2 separate regions of the Homo sapiens genome follow, and region 2 is linked to region 1. The links are contacts of gene promoters, found by promoter capture Hi-C in blood cells and fetal thymus (Javierre and others, 2016). All regions are on one chromosome and are shown on one strand. Each heading gives the region's core, a stretch centred on a gene start or on the middle of the fragment in contact. The rest is flanking DNA. Distances are from core to core; before and after follow the strand shown. Region 1 holds the start of SIRPA (signal regulatory protein alpha). Region 2 has its middle 110 kb from the start of SIRPA.

What was found. Contacts are between HindIII fragments. The CHiCAGO score rates a contact against its expected background, and 5 or more counts as called.
Region 2: a contact is called between a fragment that was not itself captured here and the fragment with the promoter of SIRPA in region 1, in 2 of 17 cell types (monocytes and neutrophils). The highest score is 8.4, in monocytes.

The regions. Positions count from the first base shown.
Region 1 is chr20:1,893,369-1,898,318 of GRCh38, forward strand. SIRPA (signal regulatory protein alpha) reads left to right here and starts at 2,039. Exons shown (of 8, transcript NM_001040023.2): 1 at 2,039-2,158. The coding sequence starts at 2,080. LOC102724545 (a long non-coding RNA gene) reads right to left here and starts at 882. Exons shown (of 4, transcript NR_186374.1): 1 at 751-882. RefSeq lists silencers at 1,003-1,262, 1,273-1,392 and an enhancer at 2,684-3,199. The HindIII fragment of the contact is 10,599 bases long and covers 126-4,950 here.
Region 2 is chr20:1,780,538-1,785,487 of GRCh38, forward strand. No RefSeq gene overlaps it. Among named protein-coding and RNA genes, the nearest start is that of SIRPA, 110 kb to the right of the region's middle. The HindIII fragment of the contact is 959 bases long and covers 1,986-2,944 here.

The DNA.
Region 1 (4,950 bases), core at 789-3,288:
CCCCCCTGCACAACAGCAGGGCCATGCCTTCACCAGGAGGCTCGGGGCAGGAGGGGAGGCAGTGGTGTTACTTTGCACAGGTCTTTAACCTGGGAATCAGGAATTCAAATCTTGTTTCTACCCCAAGCTTTGCTGTGTGGCCTTAAGCAAACCTATTCCCTCTCCGGGCCTCAACTTTCTGTCCATTTACAGGGTTGGGCCTTCTCTCACCTTGTGTCATTCCTGTCCTCTTAACCGCCACTGTGTGAACCAAAATTCTCTCCCATTAGCAGCGGGGTCTTGAACTTGTGTTCCTCCCACAGTGCGGAGCCTTCTGCCAGGTGACCACGACACTGGCACTCCCCATCACTGACCTGGCTACTACAGGAACGGCGTTCCCTCCGGGAAAACCGGGGTTCTGTCCTCTCCAACTCCAGGCCTCTGGCCCCGGCTCCCCTTCCCCTCATCTTCCTCAGGGCTTGTCCTTCTCCCGGAACCCAGGCCTTCAGGGCCCCGCTCTCCCACACACGCCCCGGCCTGGGCCTCCCACCCGCCCAGTCCGCCCTCCACCACCGAGACACCTGGCCAGGGGGCCTCCACCTCCCTGGGAAGGCCCCGACCCTTCCCCTCTGGTTGCGCGCCACAGCCCCCTTCTCGCTCCCTCTCCTCCCCGCGCCTCTTTTCCAGGCGGCACCGAAGTCCTTCCTACACACACGCTATTTTTGTACCATCATCTCTTCTTCCTCTCCCCTTCCCCCTGCGTTCACTTACTTCCTTCTTTTCCTTCACCTCGGCCCGGCTCTGAAAGGATCGGGCCCCTCCGGCCCGCACCCACCCCCAAGAGGGGCCTTCAGCTTTGGGGCTCAGAGGCACGACCTCCTGGGGAGGGTTAAAAGGCAGACGCCCCCCCGCCCCCCGCGCCCCCGCGCCCCGACTCCTTCGCCGCCTCCAGCCTCTCGCCAGTGGGAAGCGGGGAGCAGCCGCGCGGCCGGAGTCCGGAGGCGAGGGGAGGTCGGCCGCAACTTCCCCGGTCCACCTTAAGAGGACGATGTAGCCAGCTCGCAGCGCTGACCTTAGAAAAACAAGTTTGCGCAAAGTGGAGCGGGGACCCGGCCTCTGGGCAGCCCCGGCGGCGCTTCCAGTGCCTTCCAGCCCTCGCGGGCGGCGCAGGTCCGGGCCCGGCAGGGACGGGGAGGGGCAGAGCGGGACCGGTCGGGGCTGGGGACCAGCCGCGCGGGCTTCTGAACGGGCACGCTGTCGGAGCCGGAGGCTCGTCTAGTCCCGAGCCCCAGCGGGCCGCGGCGGCTCGCGGGGCCGCCTTCCCGGGACAGCAGCCGGGGCCCGGGCGCCGGCGCGGGGGAGGACGCTGCCCTCCCCGGCCGGGCGCGCAGCTCGCAGCCCTCGCTCCCTCCCCCGGGGCGCGCAGGCGGGCGCTCGCTCGCAGAGAAGGTGCCGGCGGGGCCGGAGCCCCGAAGCCTCCCCGGGCGGCGGGAAGACGGGAGGAGGGGAAAGGGAAGGAGGGAGGGGGTCGGGCTGCCGGGAGGGCGGGGGCAGCGGCCGGGACTGCGGGCCGGGAGCGAGCCCAGCCGCCCGCGCCGTGTGGAGCCCGGGCGGGGCAGGTGGGCAGCGGCGGGGGCGGCTCCGCGCGGCCGGGCTCGGCCGTGCTGCCCCTCGCCCCTGCTCGCGCGGTCCTCTCTCCCGCGCGGTCTGTCGGTCTGCGCGCCGCCTCGCTCCTCGCTCCTCGCTCTCCCCCTCTTTCTCCCCCTCTCGCCTCTCCGTGTCTCTGGCTCTCTGCCTGGCTCCCTTGGGTCTGTTTCTCTCTCCTGCCGCCTCTCTCTGGCCGCCCCTGGCTTTATTTCTCGCGCGCTTGGGGTCTCTCCCAGTCTCCGTCTCTCCATTTCTCCTGGGGGGCGGGGAGGGGGGGTCTCCAAAAACCGCGGCGGCGGCGGCGGCCGCTCCAGGCGCCCGTTCCGGAGTCGGGGGGAGGCCCAGCCGGGAGGGGGGAAGGGGGGGAGCCTTAGTCATTTCCCCGCTCCAGCCTGCTCCCGCCCGAGCGCGCACTCACGGCCGCTCTCCCTCCTCGCTCCGCAGCCGCGGCCCATGGAGCCCGCCGGCCCGGCCCCCGGCCGCCTCGGGCCGCTGCTCTGCCTGCTGCTCGCCGCGTCCTGCGCCTGGTCAGGTAAGCACCCCCCCGCTCCCCACCGCTGCACTCCCCAAACTGCGGGCTCAGGCCTCTCAGACTGGCACTGGGACCCCTTCGGCTAATGCCGAGCAGTAATAGGGGGAGAGACGCCTGTAACCAGGGTTATAGATGCAGAAACTGAGGCCCAGAGAGGGCCAGCGACATGCCCAAGGTCACACAGCCAAGGGTAGAACCCAAGTCTCTTCTATGAGAGTTTGTCTCTGTGGACTCTGACTCTGTGCACTGTGCTGGGCACTGAGACAAAAGAGCCGAGTTGCTTCACTCAGCCCCTGCCCGGTCCAATGGGGAAGGCTGACTGACAGTGGCTTTCAGAGCAGGGCCGTCCGGCTTCCCCAGAATCTGTCCCCATGGACATACGACTTTCCACATGTTTGACTTCAGGGTGTGAGGGGAGGAGGTGAGGGCAGAGGTCCTCCCGATGCTGCCTGGAATGGAACAGAGACAAGCTGTTGCAATTAGGGAAGAGTGAGCCCTCCCTCTGGTGCGCAGAGTAAACCGGTGTTAGTGTGTGCCTGGGAGAGAGGGAGCCGGGAGGCCGCGGTAACCCCAGAGCGAGCTGCTGCGAGCAACAGATCCTTATGTAAAAACACGGTGGATTGTCCCTGTGGTTGCCAAAGCCTCTCCCTGGTGGTCTTGCTCCTTGAGGCGCTCCCAGCTCCCCCTTCCTCCTGCCTTCCCCGAGCTTCCAGGCAGCTCCCTGCAGTTCAGGTGCTCCGCGGGGATGTTACCTGTGGCTCTGACCATGTCTTTCTGTTGGCCTACATCAAACACCTGGCTGTCGCCGGCAGGCGGGCTCTGAAGGCTACTGTGCATGTTCACCAAAGGGTGAGGTCACCATTCAGGAGTCTTGCTTCTTAAATGGGTTTTGCAAAACCATGGGTCTCCTGGGAGGGCACCGGGTGGGGGGCGGGGGGAGCAGAGAAATGGCATTAAGGGAGTTGGGAGGGAGAGAAAAATGGGGATCTTGTTTTTTGTCGTCTTGAAACTGTGTTGTAGGCAGTGGGGTCTCTCTGTACCTCCCACCCTTGAGGAGGGAGGTAAAGATGAGCTCAGTGTCCAACACCCCCTTTTGCGTTTGACTAGAGATGGTAACCATCTGATAGCAGGGAGAAAGGGAGAACTAGCAAAGAGTGGGTGGAAGGAGAAGTATGGGGGGTAGACAGCTGCTTCTCTCTGCCCTGCAGTTTCCCCTGAAACCCAGGAATTCACATAGGCATCCCCCCACCCCACCCCACCCTCCACCCCCAGTTCTTTTCAGTTATAGTTGCGTCCTTGCTGGGCTGAAGGGAGCACTGATACAGTTCACGTCTCTCCAGTGAGTGGCATCTCCTATCTGCTCCTTCCTGCCTGAGCTGGCCATTTGTACCCTGCAAAAGTCCGAGTTCCTGCCCTGCCATCCTTCCTGGCCTGGAAATGCACAAGTGTCACTCACAAGTGCTTAATTTTCCTGAAGCAGGGAATTGGGCCCGAGTTAATTTCTAAATGTCTATTCCAGACCCTTCTCCGACCAGGAGGCTGTGGTTCAGTCCCTGGCAAACGAGCAGTGACGCTGATTAGCAAGTGCTCCGATGGGCAGCCTGCCTTTCCTGGGGCACCGGCTGGGAACACCAACACCTTTCTTGTGAGCACATCTCCCCCTTTTGCCTATAAAAACAGTCTATAAGATGGTAAAGATTGGGCCATAAAACTTCCGTTCCAATCCATTCAGCATCAATAGCCTGAAAAAGTGGGAGCAGCAGAGGGGCCAAGATTAGCTTTGAAATAAATAAATCTTAGGAGGTAAGAATGAATTTCTTGGTCGAGGGTGGTGGGGAAGGGATGAGGTGCGACCATCATAGCTCAAGTCTCCCATTATCCTTCAGTATCTGTTCTTCGGGGTCCTGGTCACACCATGGGCCTGGGCAGGGAAGTCACCTGGTTTGGCTGAAGGATGGGGCCTCAGGCCCCTCCCCCTATTGCTCCAGACATGGAATTTACAACAAAGAAGTAGAGAGACAGGATATGAGGGTAGGAAGGTACAAGGAGGCAGTTGTCCAATTTTCTAAGAAAATGGATTTGTTCGAGTGAGAAACTAAAATGTCAGGTTTAGGAAGGCGGCTTTGGATTGAATGACTACTAGTGTCTCAGGCAGAACTGTCAGCCTGGGAGGTGTCACATGATTCCTGTGTCTTCACATGATCACTGTTTTGGGGGGGTGGGGCCAATCATGTGAATTATCCTGGGTGGGGGAGGCAAGAGAAGAAGTTTCTAAAGATTGCTTTTAGCACAAATGCTGCCAAAGGGAAATTCTAAAAAGATCCCAGTGAAGTCACCAACCTATGTTTTTGGACCCAATGTGAGGCCTGTTTCCTAAAACAACTGCACTGAGGGAGATTCTGAGGCTGGGAGAAGGGCAAGGGACTGAGGCCTGGGGACACCTGGCACCTGATTTTGTGTCAGCAGGGCCTGACGCTGAACCCGCAGGATGCCTGCTTGGCCCCAGGTAGGCCTTGAGACCTCTGAGTCACCCCCCAGGCCGACCTCAGATAAACTCCCATTCATTTCTTCTCTCTGGCCTGGAGGAGGCCAAGCCAAGTTGCAGTTCAGGCTCTGGGGAGCAGCGGGGCCCCCCAGTGAACCTCTCACCGTTTGGTAGAGGGTGGCACTCTGGGGGCTCCTCTGTACTTTCCTAAATGGTAAAGTTAATCTCACTTCCTCTTTCGTAAGAAGAGAAAACGGGGCGGGAGTGCTTTGGCTCAACACATCAGGCTGTTGGAAGTTCCTTTAAA
Region 2 (4,950 bases), core at 1,215-3,714, 110 kb before region 1:
TGATGTACATTTTTTAGAGGATAACTGGGGTTGTTGTGTGGAGAATGGGAAGGAGCGTGGCAGGAATGGAAGCAGGGAGACCAGTGGGGAAGCTGGTACAGACCTCCAGGCCAAGGTGATGGTAGCCTGGACTAGGGTGGTGAGAAAAGGAGGCTCGAGACACATTTGGAAGATACAGCCCACAGGACTCAGTGATGGGCGGGATGGGGGGTGAGGGACAGAATGAATTCTGGATCAACAATTCCCAGGTTTTCTCTAGAGCAGCTGTGTGGGTGGTAGCTCTACTTTTTGAGCTGGGAAGATCTGGAGAAGGACCAAGTTGGGATAGGAAGGGAATGGTGATGAATCAGGATTTCCATTGTGGATGTAAGTTTATAAGGACTTGAGTGTAAAGTCAAGAATCACCCCAACAGGGATGGTTGGCCCCCCTACTCGGGTGCCTCCCATCAACACTTCACTAGACCCCCGTTGTCTGCTTGCTTACCTGCAGTGACAGGGAGCTGTCTCCATGAGAAGCAGCTCCATTCACCCTCACACCCAGCTAGGACTATGACAAAATATTTCCTGCTTCTGGGATATAACCTGGGATCTGTCTCCCAGAATTTTCCCAGGAAAACTGCAGGATGAGACTCACCCCTCCTTCTAAGGACAGCCTTGCAGAGCTCTGGAGCAAGAAACTCCCCAAGTCTTCACAGCATTCCCTAAGCCCCTGCTCTGCACCAGGTCAAGAGCTGGGTGCTGAGACCACAGAGATGAGTCAGACAGGACCCCCACCCTTGAGAAGCATCTGGTCAGATGGGGGTGAAAGGCAAATAAACAACCAATGACAAGCAGGATGACAGGCAGAGGGCAGCGCAGGAGGCCATAGGAACTTGTCCTCTTAGCACACAGCTCTGGTACCTTCTGGACTGTGCTCTGCCCTCATCACCCACCCTGCACACAGCACCGTGTGGTTCAGAAAACATTTTCAGCCATGTGTGCTTCTTTTCTTCCACATCTCAGCTGTGGGAGGCTGGTATTATTGTCCTCACTTTCCAGAAAAGGAAACAGAGATTCAGAAAGGTCTCGTGACTTGCTCAAGGTCACACAGCCTATCAGTGACTAAAGAGGGAGGGTAAGAAGGCCTGTCTGACTTTGGGTCCAGGACTCTTCCATGCCTCCAATGCCGGAGGCTCCATCACTCTGGCGACTTCTCTCTCTCTCTTTTTTTTCTCTCTCTCTCTTTCTTTCTCTCGCTCTGTCTTTTCCACCCTTACACCCTCTCTGACCCAGAACAGGTAGCCACCCAGACTAGAGCTGACATCGGGAAAACTGGGAGGTGGGCTCCTCTTTTACCCCCTGACCTCCCCCGAGCCCCTCACCCTTAGGTCACTTCCTCTTCTGACCCCCAAGCTCCCACCAGCTCCCTTTGTCCGCAAGGTCTACATTGAAGAAAAGATGCAAAACAGCACCTGACTGGCAGGAAAACAGCTCAGTCACCTCCTCTGAGCCTCAGTCTTCCTTCAGAAAGACACAGTGGCTGGATTTGGTCATTCCTGGGGGTCTCCTTGCCTGCCCTGAGGGTCTCTCTGGGCAGGAATCAGGACTCACCTGTGAGTCCCAGCAGAAGGGTGGGCAGGAGGGAGCCCAGGGCCCGCCCAGGTGTGGTAGCCATGGTGAGAGACTCACAGTGCTCCTGGTCTGTTCCTGGTGGCAACCACTGGATAAGGCCCTGAAAGAGCCCAGGAGCCACTGACCAGCCTCTGACAGCCTGGAGCAGGCCTTATACTTCCCAGCTGCCTACCCCACCCCATTCTCTGCCATGCCTGGAACAGAGGCCTGAGCCACAGTGAGGGAAGTGGTCACTGTGGCCACGGCCTCCTTCCAAGCTGCAAACCTTCAGGCCTGAGGTGTCTAACCAGGGAGGCATCTGGAGCCTTTTAATGGGTTCCGACTGTCCCTGATTCCCCATGAGCAAAACCAGAAAGCGGCTGAGCTCTGCCTCAAGCTTCAAGCCACAGAGCTGGCCTCTGATAGGCTGAGCCTTGATGTCCCTTGTCCTGGAGGCTCCTCCATGCTGAACAAGCAGCATCAAGAGCCTGCCCTGTCCCAGGCCCAGACACGGCTTCTGGGAATGCAGAATGGATCAGATATGGGCCCAGAGGGTTGAGAAGTGAGCCTTGACATACACAACCACGTGCAACCAAGAAAGACCCTAGACTTTGAAACCCAACCCTTGCCTCACAGCTTAACTGGGCTTGGACAATGGTGGCACGGATTTCCCATGGCCCAGAACTGTCTACTAGGCTCCACGTTGGGGAAACATGAGTTTGAAACACAGCCACCAGTTTCCCTGACCTCCCTATGAAAACAACCTCTCCCTTTGGTCTCTCTCCATTTCCTTACCCTACGTTACTGGGCTTTCCAATGGTTAGCCCTGATGTATATTACTCGTTTTTATCCATTTCCCTCATGAAAAACAAATGATTTGCCCTGAAGACTACTGCTTTTTGTTCATGGCTGTAACCAGCAGCCACACAGTGCTGGGCACAGAATAGATACTCGCTAATAACAAATGAACCTTTGGGGCCAGGTATGTTCTCAAGACTGATTACAAAGCAGCCAAGCCCAGCCTGCTCCCCAGCCATCCCATCTCTTTGGGGTCTGTACGCTCAGCTAAAGTGGAGGGAGAGGCTAGAGAGGAGTTTTCTAGCCTGGGTGAGGCTGTTATGGAAACTCCCCTGACCTCACAACCCCCCACCACTACTCAGCCAAGCAAGGCACCCCAAAATGACTCCTAGATATTACGTGCCTGCAGGAGGAGGAGGCTGGCTTTTCTTTTTCCAGGTGTCTCCTGAAGCAACAGTGGATTTGCTGATCCACCTTGATGTTGCCCTGAGCAGGAGAAAAAGGAACTGAAAAGAGACAGCAGGGTAGAGTGACGGGGTGGCAGGGCAGCAGCTCAAGCTTCCTCCATGCAGAGTGGCAAGGGGGTGAGGTCCATGGAGAGACCCTCATTGAAAGGGGGGAGCCGACCTTAGAGCATCCCACTCAAGAGAGATGACCACTGGCAAGAGGGCCTAGGAGTAAGAGACTGCAGCATGGACTCCAGCGGGGAGCTGTGAACCTGGATCAGATCATGCATAAAAGAGACTGTGCAGCAGACTGTGTACCCCCACAGCATACACACATGGGCACACACACGTGCACATGCATGCACACATGCACACATTCAGGATCCTCCTAGGAATCCACACCTGTGCCCTAGGAGGCAGCTGGCTTCCAGAGTCCAGCCATAGTGAACAGAGCATTGCTGGGTAAAAGAAGTCCCTCTTTTTCCATCTCCCTTCCCAGGCCCTAACACACCAGATGATAGACAGACCCAATTCAGGGAAAGGAGGAGGGACAAAAGAATGCTTCACCTCCATCCCTTCCAGATCCCTCAGCAGGGACTTGGAGGCAGCAGTGGGCTGGGGTGAGAGAAGGAAGTGGACGCTGAACTAGATGTAATGTTGGCATTTTCAACCAGACTAGTTTGGACTGGGCAGGGCCTGACACAGAATAGTTACTTTATAAAGTTTGGTAAAATTATTCATCTACCCTCAGTTCCTTGGTGACACTAGCCACATTTCAGACACTCAATAGTCACGTGTGGCTACTGGCTACCATAGTCGACAGTGAGGTCTTGGGTGAAACATTCTTCATCAGGGAAGTCTTTTCTACCCTAATGTCTCCCTGTGGGTTCAAATACTTCTCTTGCAGAGCATTTATCACAGTTATAATTAAACTGTTAACTTGAAACTAGTTGCATAATAACTCTTTCCCTTATTAGACTGTAGGCTCTGGAGGACAGGGACCATGTCCTTGGTCACTAGTGTAAATAAGTGCCGGATGAATGTTTGTTGGATGGATGGATGGGTGGGTGGATGGATGGATGGGTGGATGGATGGGTGGATCCATGGATAAACAGACTAAGAGGAAGGTATGTGCTACAGGGCAAGGGACAGAAGGAAGCAATCCCACTGAGAAAGCAGAGAAGCCTTCCTGGAGGAAGTGGGCTTCCTTCAGGGCTCCTGTCTCAGCCCTCCAGCTTAATCACACCATCTACACAGAAGGAGAAGACTGGCAACACTAGGGCTAAGCTGCAGTGGGTGGGCAGCCATGGGCAGCCTGCCTTGTGGGGCTGGAAGGCTGAAGGGGAAGTGGAGAAGATGAGGTTCTCCAAGGAGTGGCCTGAGGAATGCCAAAGTACCCACAGGGCTAGCCCAGGCTGGGCCATGCGTCCACTGGGTAAGGCTTGGCTTCCTCTGAGTAGAGTCACGTCAGTCTCCTTCCTTATTCTAGCACCGGCAAGAACTGGCTGTCACGTACTCTATAAGCACAACCTTTTATAGGAGCTGGGGACCCAAGAGCCCTCATCATGAATATGGGCCCCTGTGCTGGCCTAACAGGCTGAGGGCCCAGAGAGGACAGAGAGTTGCTAGCTCTTCAGAAAAGGGACACTGGGCCAGGTGCAGTGGCTCATGCCTGTAATCCCAGCATTTTGGGAGGCCAAGGAAGGCGGATCATGAGGTCAGGAGTTCGAGACCAGCCTGACCAACATGGAGAAACCCTGTCTCTACTAAAAATACAAAAATTAGCTGTGCGCGGAGGCATGCGCCTGTAATCCTAGTTACTCAGGAGGCTGAGGCAAGAGAATCGCTTGAACCCAGGAGGCAAAGGTTGCAGTGAGCTGAGATCGCGCCAGTGCACTCCAGCCTGGGGACAGAGAGAGACTCTGTCTCAAAAAAAAAAAAAAAAAAAGGACATCAATGACCCTAAAATCCAACTCCTTGCTGCAAGGACCCATGGATCTTTTACCCTCACCCCATCTTCTTAGACTTACCCTTGACAAGCTGCACATGTCACTCTGAGCCTCCTGCGAACACAAGTCCGTGTCTCCCCAAGACGATGATCAGCCTCCTTGAGGAC